3 separate regions of the Homo sapiens genome follow, and all the other regions are linked to region 1. The links are contacts of gene promoters, found by promoter capture Hi-C in blood cells and fetal thymus (Javierre and others, 2016). All regions are on one chromosome and are shown on one strand. The core of a region is centred on a gene start or on the middle of the fragment in contact, and the rest is flanking DNA. Distances in the headings are between cores, read along the strand shown. Region 1 holds the start of C1RL-AS1 (C1RL antisense RNA 1). Region 2 overlaps LOC105369632 (a long non-coding RNA gene). Region 3 holds the start of LRRC23 (leucine rich repeat containing 23).

Region 1 (3,006 bases), core at 347-2,846:
CCTGCCTTCTCTGAGGATGGGACCACCCATCTCCATAAGAGCCTTCTGGCCTCCTACCAAGCTGTGGGTGAGTGTCCTTCCTCGGGGAGCGGTGAGAGCAGGCAGGGGCTCTAGTATCTGCCTAAAGAAGCTTGAGTGACGGCTTGAGTGATGACTGGGACTAGGGACTGAGGGACACCTGGGCTCGACCCCAGCCCTGACCATGCTGGACAAGCAGCCTCCAGAGGTTGTGAATAGGATTCAAAAGACCACCTAAGCGCATGTCCCCCACCCCTGCTTGGGGAGGAGGGAAAGGAAGAGAAAGCTCAAGTTCAAGGATCACAAACTTCAATTCTACAAGAGGGAGGCTCCCCGGGTATGTCGTGAACGGAAAGGTCGGGGAGGAAGAGACATGGCTGATTGAAGGCAGCAGCCATAACTCACAAGGAGCCATCCTACACACATGGCAAAAATTAATGTTAAATAGTACAAAAGGGTCGAGTCAGTGCCCTGCCACCCTGACCTCTGAGGGCCAGCGAGGTTTTTGGACGTTTCTCCCCTAAGCTGCGGCGGGCCCGCTGTTCCTGAGTCAGACGGCAGGTGGCGCTCAGCCCGGAGAATTGGAGAAGGGGAACTGTGGAGTTGCTTAACATTTCCAGGAACTTCCTCCTCCCCCACCGGCCTTCACCTTTTGTTCCCTATCCTGGGCCAGTTCTCTCGCAGGTCCCAGATGTCCAGTTCCAGATGCCTGGACCCAGAGTGTGGGGGAAATATCTCTGGAGAAGCCCTCACTCCAAAGGCTGTCCAGGCGCAATGTGAGTGTGGCCCCGGCAGAGGAGGAGGGAAGAGGACGGGAGGGGAAGAGAAAGGGTGGGTGGCCGCAAACCCTCCCTCCCCCCACCCTACCCCCCCCACACACACATCCCCCCCCCCCCCACACACACACACACACACACACCTCCCCCACATACACACACCAGCAGCAGCAGCAGCAGCAGCACAGCAGATATTCCATGGGGAGACTGAAATTTGCCTGTGGCCTCTAGCACCTTCCCAGAGGGTGGTCGGGGGATATTTACGGCAGACCCTCACTCGCCCCACCATTGCTCCCTCGGATCCCAGGGTGGGGTGGGATCTGCTGAAGCAGAAAGCACCCCCCTCCTTTGGACGAGACTCTCCTGGGAGATGAGCAAAGGTGATGTCTTCGGAGGATGGAAAACCCACAATCCTAGAGCTCAGGCTGCGCGGGAGGCTGTAGGGATTGGGGTGAGGAAGGGGAGCAAGGGAGGAGACGGGAAGTGCCCGGGCCTCAAGGGTGAGGCCACAGCTTCTAGCCCTGCCTCGCGAGGCCTCTGAGTCCTAGCGCGGCTCCCCCGCTCCTCCCACACCCACAGGCTTCCGGCCATAGCTGCGCGGCCCCACCTTGCCCTCCCCCCAACTCACAGGTGGTGGCTGCTTCTCTGGGGAGTCCTCCAGGCTTGCCCAACCCGGGGCTCCGTCCTCTTGGCCCAAGAGCTACCCCAGCAGCTGACATCCCCCGGGTACCCAGAGCCGTATGGCAAAGGCCAAGAGAGCAGCACGGACATCAAGGCTCCAGAGGGCTTTGCTGTGAGGCTCGTCTTCCAGGACTTCGACCTGGAGCCGTCCCAGGACTGTGCAGGGGACTCTGTCACAGTGAGCTGGGGATGGGGGGGGTCCCGCCAGGACTGTGGCCAGGGAGATTCCCGGGGTTGTGGGAAGTGGCGGTGCCCTGAATCCCCCATCTGGAGGAGGGATGAATTTTCCATGTAGGGGCAGTCGGGCTTGGCTTACCGGGGAGCAGTGGTGGACCCCAGGACACAGCCTCCCACCAGCGCCTCCGGGGCTGCCATCTGGGCCCCACAGAGCAAAGAGGGCAGCAAGCAGGCCCTGCGTTTGGAAGGCTTATGAATGGACACACAAATCTTGCAAATCTATGGAGCCAGGGGCAGGGACGCACATATTGGTTGTTAAAAATATGTCATCATGTATTTGTTGAGTGCCTGCTCTATCAGGTGAGGAAGCTGGACACAAATAATAACAAAAGATTAAGTCACCGTTCACACTTACCTTGGAAGAGCTATTACAAAACTTCTAACGCCAAAGCCTTATTCAGAATAAGGACATTTTAAAAACAGTACTTGATGGAGTGATGCAAGCTTGCAGTCCCAGCAGTATAGTCAGGAGACTGAGGCTGGAGGATCAGAGGGCTGGAGCCCAGGGTTCAAGGCCAGCCTAAGCAACATAGCAAGACCCCATCTCAAAAATAAGTAAATAATAAATAAAAATAAAAAGAGCACATTATCTTTTGATTTAAATTTTATTTATATCAAAATGACATAAATTTTTGAACTTTATTTTTTAATTTTAAAATTTTTAATTATTATGGATACATAATAGTTGTAAGACTTTTTGTTTTTTAATTAAAGTTTTCTAAGGCTGGGCGCAGTAGCTCATGTCTGTAGTCCCAGCACTTTGGGAGGCTGAGGCGAAAGAAGCACTTGAGCCCAGGAATTTGAGACCAGCCTGGGCAACATAGCAAGACCCCATCTCTACAAAAAAATTTAAAAATTAGCCAAGTGTGGTGGCACGCACCTGTGGTCCCAGCTACAAGGGACGCTGAAGTGAGAGGATCACTTGAGCCTGGAAGGTAGAGGCTGCAGTGAGCTCTGATCATGACACCGTACTCCAGCCTGGGTGACAGAGTGAGACCCTGTCTCCAAAAAAAAAAAAAGGTTTTTAAAAAGGTTTATGAATAACAGCAGTCTCCAAGCTGTTCCTCCCCGCCCCTGAGTGCTGCTCCTCAGGAGCAGTCATTTGCCAATTCATGTAGCTGTTTCATCTGGTCTTTAACTTCATATGTATAAATAACATGCTTATTTGTCTTTCATTTTTACGTATTTTCTATTAATGCTCAACTACAGTATAGAAGATAAGGACTAGCTTTATCTGTCTTCAGTCTTCACCACCCACATTTCCCCTCCTCATTCTGCCAGTTTACCTATATTA
Region 2 (3,006 bases), core at 507-3,006, 220 kb after region 1:
CTTTTCTTTTTTTTTTTTGAGACAGAGTCTTGCTCTGTGGCCCAGGCTGGAGTTCAGTGGCACAATCTCGGCTCACTGCAACCTCTGCCTCCCAGGGTCAAGCAATTCTCCTGCCTCAGCCTCCCTCGTAGCCAGGACTACAGGCACACGCCGCCATGCCTGGCTAATTTTTTGTATATTTAAAGTAGAGATGGGGTTTCACCGTGATGCCCAGGCTGGTCTTGGACTCCTGAGCTCAAACAATCCACCCACTTTCGCCTCCCAAAGTGCTAGAACTACAGGCGTGAGCACCGCGCCTGGCTATTTTCTTTTTTCTTTTCTTTTCTTTTCTTTTTTTTTTTTAAAAAAACAACTTTAGACTTTAGATATATGTGGGGAAAAGCAAAAGAGATCAGATTGTTACTGTGTCTGTGTAGAAAGAAGTAGACATAGGAGACTCCATTTTGTTCTGTACTAAGAAAAATTCTTCTGCCTTGAGATTCTGTTAATCTATAACCTTACCCCCAACCCCGTGCTCTCTGAAACATGTGCTGTGTCAACTCAGAGTTAAATGGATTAAGGGCGGTGCAAGATGTGCTTTGTTAAACAGATGCTTGAAGGCAGCATGCTCCTTAAGAGTCATCACCACTCCCTAATCTCAAGTACCCAGGGACACAAACACTGCGGAAGTCCGCAGGGACCTCTGCCTAGGAAAGCCAGGTATTGTCCAAGGTTTCTCCCCATATGATAGTCTGAAATATGGCCTCGTGGGAAGGGAAAGACCTGACCATCCCCCATCCCGACACCCGTAAAGGTTCTGTGCTGAGGAGGATTAGTAAAAGAGGAAGGAATGCCTCTTGCAGTTGAGACAAGAGGAAGGCATCTGTCACCTGCCTGTCCCTGGGCAATGGAATGTCTTGGTATAAAACCCGATTGTATGCTCCATCTACTGAGATAGGGAAAAACCGCCTTAGGGCTGGAGGTGGGACCTGCGGGCAGCAATACTGCTTTGTAAAGCATTGAGATGTTTATGTGTATGCATATCTAAAAGCACAGCACTTAATCCTTTACATTGTCTATGATGCAAAGACCTTTGTTCACGTGTTTGTCTGCTGACCCTCTCCCCACAATTGTCTTGTGACCCTGACACATCCCCCTCTTCGAGAAACACCCACAAATGATTAATAAATACTAAGGGAACTCAGAGGCTGGCAGGATCCTCCATATGCTGAACGCTGCTTCCCCGGGTCCCCTTATTTCTTTCTCTATACTTTGTGTCTTTTTCTTTCCCAAGTCTCTCGTCCCACCTTACGAGAAACACCCACAGGTGTGGAGGGGCAACCCACCCCTACAGATATATTTAGGGCTGTTTGCATATGTTTATAGAGTATTTAGTTTACTCTAAAAGATGACAAGACAGCTCCCCTCAGTGAGACCCTGGCCTAAATATATTTGCTTTATTTATATAGCAAGAGGATAACATTAAACGTGGAAGCTTTCAATTTGTGGCACTGAATGATGATCTACACAGGGCATCCTTCAAAGGCTACAATTAAGGATCCACTGGCCAGGCATGCTGGCTCACGCCTGTAATCCCAGCACTTTGGGAGGCCAAGGAGGGCAAATCACGAGGTCAGGAGTTCGAGACCAGCCTGACCAATATGGTGAAACCCTGACTCTACTAAGAATACAAAAATTAGCCAGGTGTGGTGGCGCACGCTATAATCCCAGCTACTCAGGAGGCTGGGCAGGAAAATCACTTGAACCCGGGAGGCAGAGGTTGCAGTGAGCCGAGATCCTGTCACTGCACTCCAGCCTGGGCGACAGATCAAGACTCCATCTCAAAAAAAAAAAAAAAGGATCCACCTAACTTTTCAGCAGTACAAGCCCGATTGAGATCTTCTGGTCCGTTTGTTTGCCATTCATGTTTTATGCCTTGAAATTTCTTTTTGATTGCATCCTTGGAGCTTGTATAGATCATTTTACTTTTCAAAGGTGCTAGTTCTGATGCCCACAAGAAAACATCAATTCTTCTGGATTCTTTTGTTTCAAAGCTTGCATCATACAAAGCATAGCAACAATCTTTTTCAGGAAGCATTCCCACAAAATGCTTGAAAGGCTCACTTATAGTTACACCAACATCTCCAACCAAGATCTCTTTGCCTTCTACATGATGCACTTTTTGTCTGCACTGAGACAAAAAAATGACAGCCTTTGTTCTTTTCTTGATTTCTTCTGGTGTGGAGCATTTACGAACTCTCATGTCATAAAAAATGCGACACACTTCATCAGCAACTTGCACTCCTGAGGCACGTTGTTCAGAGTTCTGCTCTGCCGAGCTTCCAGTCTTTACATTCAATTTCCTATCTCACATCTCCAGTTGTATGTCTCAAAGGCATCTGATGCACAACAGGTCATCTTCGCCCACCACCACAGGGACGCGGGGGAGGGAGCCGGCGGGTAGTGAGTCTGGGCAGCGTCCTCCTCGTGGCTGCGGGACTGAGAGGGCGGGTAGTGAGTCTGGGCAGCGTCCTCCTCATGGCTGCGGGACCGAGAGACCCAGCGCGAAGCTGATGCAGCGGCTCGAGCCTACCCGTTTTTTTTTTTTTTAAGCGTCCTCTTCTACAGCTTCCTTGGCTCTTTGTGCCTATATGCCGAAGAGCTGGGCATTTGCATGGGCCATACAGAGACTAACAAGGCCTGGAAGTTTTCCTCCTAGTCAGCGATGACTCTGGCTTTCTCCTTGTAGACATTGCCGATGGGCATTTCTGGTCCTGTCAGCTGAGTATCCAGTTCGAGTTCTTCAGCAGAACTGTCTCCCTTCTTGGGGGCCAAGGGCTTCCTGGGGAAGAGGATGAGTGAGGAGCGGTCCTCCTTCAGCCTCTGCACCTTGGCCTGCAGGGCCTGGGTGGACTGGTTCCTCCTCCTTGCATCCTCAGAGATGCCAATGGTCTGGGCCACCTTCTTGTAAATGCCAGCCACCCTTAACTCCTCCAAGCTGAGGCCCCTGCCAGCTTGTGCTTTGTA
Region 3 (3,006 bases), core at 1-2,500, 200 kb after region 1:
TTTCCACTAGGCATGAGAAGAGTCAAACTCTCAACCAGAACACCCAGGAATGACAGTGGGAAAGGAGATAGGGGCCCTACAGTCTCACAGTCCTCATCTGGTCCCCCCAAAACGCACCTCTCTTTAACCTCCAGCTTGACATAAGCATGAGCCAGCCCATTGCCTGTCTTACAGAGCAGAGAAAGCCCTTCCTTCATCATGTCCTCCGTGAGGGGGGTGGGCAGCCACTGCAGGTAGAAGTGGAGTAAGGTGTCTCTCCCCTGCCCAACCCCCTCCTTCAGCCCTAGGACCCCTCCTTGTCCAGGCTCTCACTTCCTCAGGGAACTCTTCCCCCTCTTTTCTGTAGTCCTCCCCCTCCTCTGTCTCCTTCTCGTCCTCTTCTTTCTCAGAATCATCCTGGTCTGGCTCAGAGTCTTCTAGATCATCTTCATCTGACATCTTTCTTCCCTCCTGAAAGCTCTGGAGTCAGATAAGCTCAGTCCTCCTCCTGAAAAAGAAGGTCTCATCAGCTTCTGCCAGCCTTCAGCTCCTTCATCGTCATTGACACGTGCCACTCCCATCACCCCCATGACTTCTGACCCACCAACTCTAGGCTTCTTTCCTTATCCCTGTGAACATCTCATTTTGATTCTCAACTCCCACTTCACACTTTCCACTGAGGACCCCCTCCCTTCAGGATGTCACCCACACCCCCAGGCCTTTCCTGTCCTTCACAGTGACTCCAGCTCTCCTCCAGCAGCCGGGTGTCCCTATTTCCTGGGCTTCCCTCTCCCCCATTCTTCCCACCTCCCCCTTAAGCCATGCTCTCCAATCTTCCCTACCAATTCCTCCTCCTCTCCTCTCAGCTCCCATTGCGCCATCCGTAATCCCTGCTCCATTCATTTCTTCTACTTTTCCCTCCCCACTGGGCCAATTTCCTTGGGCCCTCTGGTACACCAGCCTAAAGCGCAGTCTCCAACCCTCCCACTCAATTCGCCTTAGCAAAGGGGCTCAGACCCTGTTTCTGCTCAATCAGAAGCAGTTCTGGAGAGGCCCTTGGTCCCGAGAGGGAAGGACTGTTTAGCAAGCGGGCGAGGGGAAGGAGGGGTTGTGTACTGCTGTTATGGCAACGGGGACGGGGCACTTGGCAACTGCAGCTCGCCACCGTTGAGAGTAGAGCGGCGACTACCTGATGCGCAAATCAGCCGGGGAGGGGATTGATCAGTAGTTGCCTGGTTACCACGCCACTTTCCCGTCCCGGGAACCCGGATGAGGCGCGGAAGGGGCGTTGGGCCGCTAATTGGCTGAGGACAAAAAGAAGTGGGCAGGGCTGAGAAGCGAGAAGAGAGGGGGCGGGGCTAGTCATTACGTCACCCAAGACCTTAAAGGGACCGGACATCTTCAATGCAAAAGTATTGTGAATTCAGGAAAAACTCGTCCTTCGAAGCAAAAAGGGCGGGGCTGCGAGGAAAAGCAAGAAACACCAAGATAAGGGGTCTTTTCCCCTTCCCCCTATAGTTTCTGCTCATTAGTTATTTTCAGGTAGACCTTTGGAAGGTGGCTTGGTGGAGCGGAAGGAGTCCAGACCCAGATACCTTAAGAACTGGGTTGGAGTCTTGGCAGATCTGCATTTGCTAGCTAAACGTACCCAAGACTCTTTGTTATCTGTAGAATTAGCTTAACTATATCAACTGACAGGGATCCAGTATGAGTTATCCTGGACTGGTTTGATGCAAACCTTTTAGTGGGTGGAAGGCAGAAAATTCAACATCTGCCCACTAAAATACTCCTGATCCAACGTTGTTATATCAGTAATCAACAGGAACTGGCATAGCCAAACCCAGGCACTCAGGCCTGTCTGACATGTTGAAGGAGATGAAAAAGATGTTGAGATGCAATAAATATTTCTGGAGAGTTTGTGCGAGACATTATGTCAAACATCTTTACAACTGATATTTAATCTCTGCAACAGTCCTGTAAGATAGACATTTGAAAGAAGAGGATACTGAGGCTCAGGGAGGTTAAGATGACACAATTCCTGCCTGGGGAAAGGGGGATGTTACCAATCTTGTTGTGGAATCTAATGTAAATGAAACAATGAGGTAACCAGGTAAGATGGCATGTGATTCATTGTTAAATTGTGCCCACAGACTTTATATAACGGCAAAGTGGTCTGGTGGAAGATGTGGTGGGCAAGAAATCAGGAAGTATTATATTACCTCCTGCCCAGGGCAGCTTGGAGGAATGTGGTTAATAGGCAAATCTGTTTACTTGGTGTCATGGAACCAGTAGGGACTTTAAAGTCAGAGACACCAGCTTCAAAACCCATCTCTACTACTTAATACCTGTGTGTCCTTCAGCAGGTTATGAAATCTTACTGAGGTCTAATTTCCACAGTCGTGAAATGGGGATTATTAAAACGTCCACCTGTAAGGATTGTTAAGGGATTAAAAGAGATAATGTGGGTAAATCGCCTTGCACTTAGTTGACCCTTAGTAAACATTTTCCTGCTCCTCCCCACCCCTGGCCTGTGTCCTTGGTACTGGGGTTGCTGTGAGGAAAAAGAAATAATAAATATGAACACTCTGAAGAGTGAGATGTGCTATACAAATGAAAGTTATTGTATTGTTGGAGTGTGGAGAAGGGAAAAATCCATGTGGTTTGATGTAGTCAAAAGAAATGGATATGAGTTTCCTTGGCCAAGAAGAAAGAGGAAGACACATTAGATGGGAAGAAAAGTTGTGATGTAAGGGTTAGGAAGGTGTCCTTGAACATACACTTTTGTTATTTTGTTTTTATTTTTGTTTTGAAATAGAGTTTCCCTCTGTCGCCCAGGATGGAGTGCGGTGGAGCAATCATAGCTCACTGCAACGTCCACCTCCTGGGCTCAAGCAGTCCTTCCGTCTCAGCCTCCTGGGTACCTGGGACTACAGGTGTGCGCCACCATGCCAAGTTAATTTTTTTGTATTTTTTGTAGAGACAAGGTTTTGCTATGTTGCCCAGGCTAGTCTCAAACTCCTGGGCTCA

What was found. The method cuts DNA at HindIII sites, captures the fragments that hold promoters and counts their contacts. A CHiCAGO score of 5 or more calls a contact.
Region 2: a contact is called between a fragment that was not itself captured here and the fragment with the promoter of C1RL-AS1 in region 1, in 4 of 17 cell types (naive B cells, naive CD4 T cells, activated CD4 T cells and 1 more). The highest score is 6.9, in naive B cells.
Region 3: a contact is called between the fragment with the promoter of LRRC23 here and the fragment with the promoter of C1RL-AS1 in region 1, in 17 of 17 cell types (total CD4 T cells, naive CD8 T cells, fetal thymus and 14 more). The highest score is 36.6, in total CD4 T cells.

What each region holds. Positions count from the first base shown.
Region 1 is chr12:7,106,898-7,109,903 of GRCh38, reverse strand. C1RL-AS1 (C1RL antisense RNA 1) reads right to left here and starts at 1,596. Exons shown (of 12, transcript NR_026947.1): 1 at 1,423-1,596; 2 at 957-1,231. It overlaps C1RL (complement C1r subcomponent like), which reads left to right and starts at 690. Exons shown (of 6, transcript NM_016546.4): 1 at 690-794; 2 at 1,425-1,653. The coding sequence starts at 724. RefSeq lists enhancers at 749-828, 1,469-1,638, 471-1,670. The HindIII fragment of the contact is 2,026 bases long and covers 133-2,158 here.
Region 2 is chr12:6,884,186-6,887,191 of GRCh38, reverse strand. The region is part of intron 1 of LOC105369632 (a long non-coding RNA gene); the gene reads left to right. It also overlaps the pseudogene RPL13P5 and the pseudogene DSTNP2. Among named protein-coding and RNA genes, the nearest start is that of SPSB2, 12 kb to the right of the region's middle. RefSeq lists enhancers at 491-1,038, 2,685-3,006. The HindIII fragment of the contact is 559 bases long and covers 1,477-2,035 here.
Region 3 is chr12:6,903,066-6,906,071 of GRCh38, reverse strand. LRRC23 (leucine rich repeat containing 23) reads right to left here and starts at 1,250. Exons shown (of 8, transcript NM_001135217.2): 1 at 997-1,250; 2 at 313-487; 3 at 118-227. The coding sequence starts at 438. The HindIII fragment of the contact is 20,869 bases long and covers 1-3,006 here.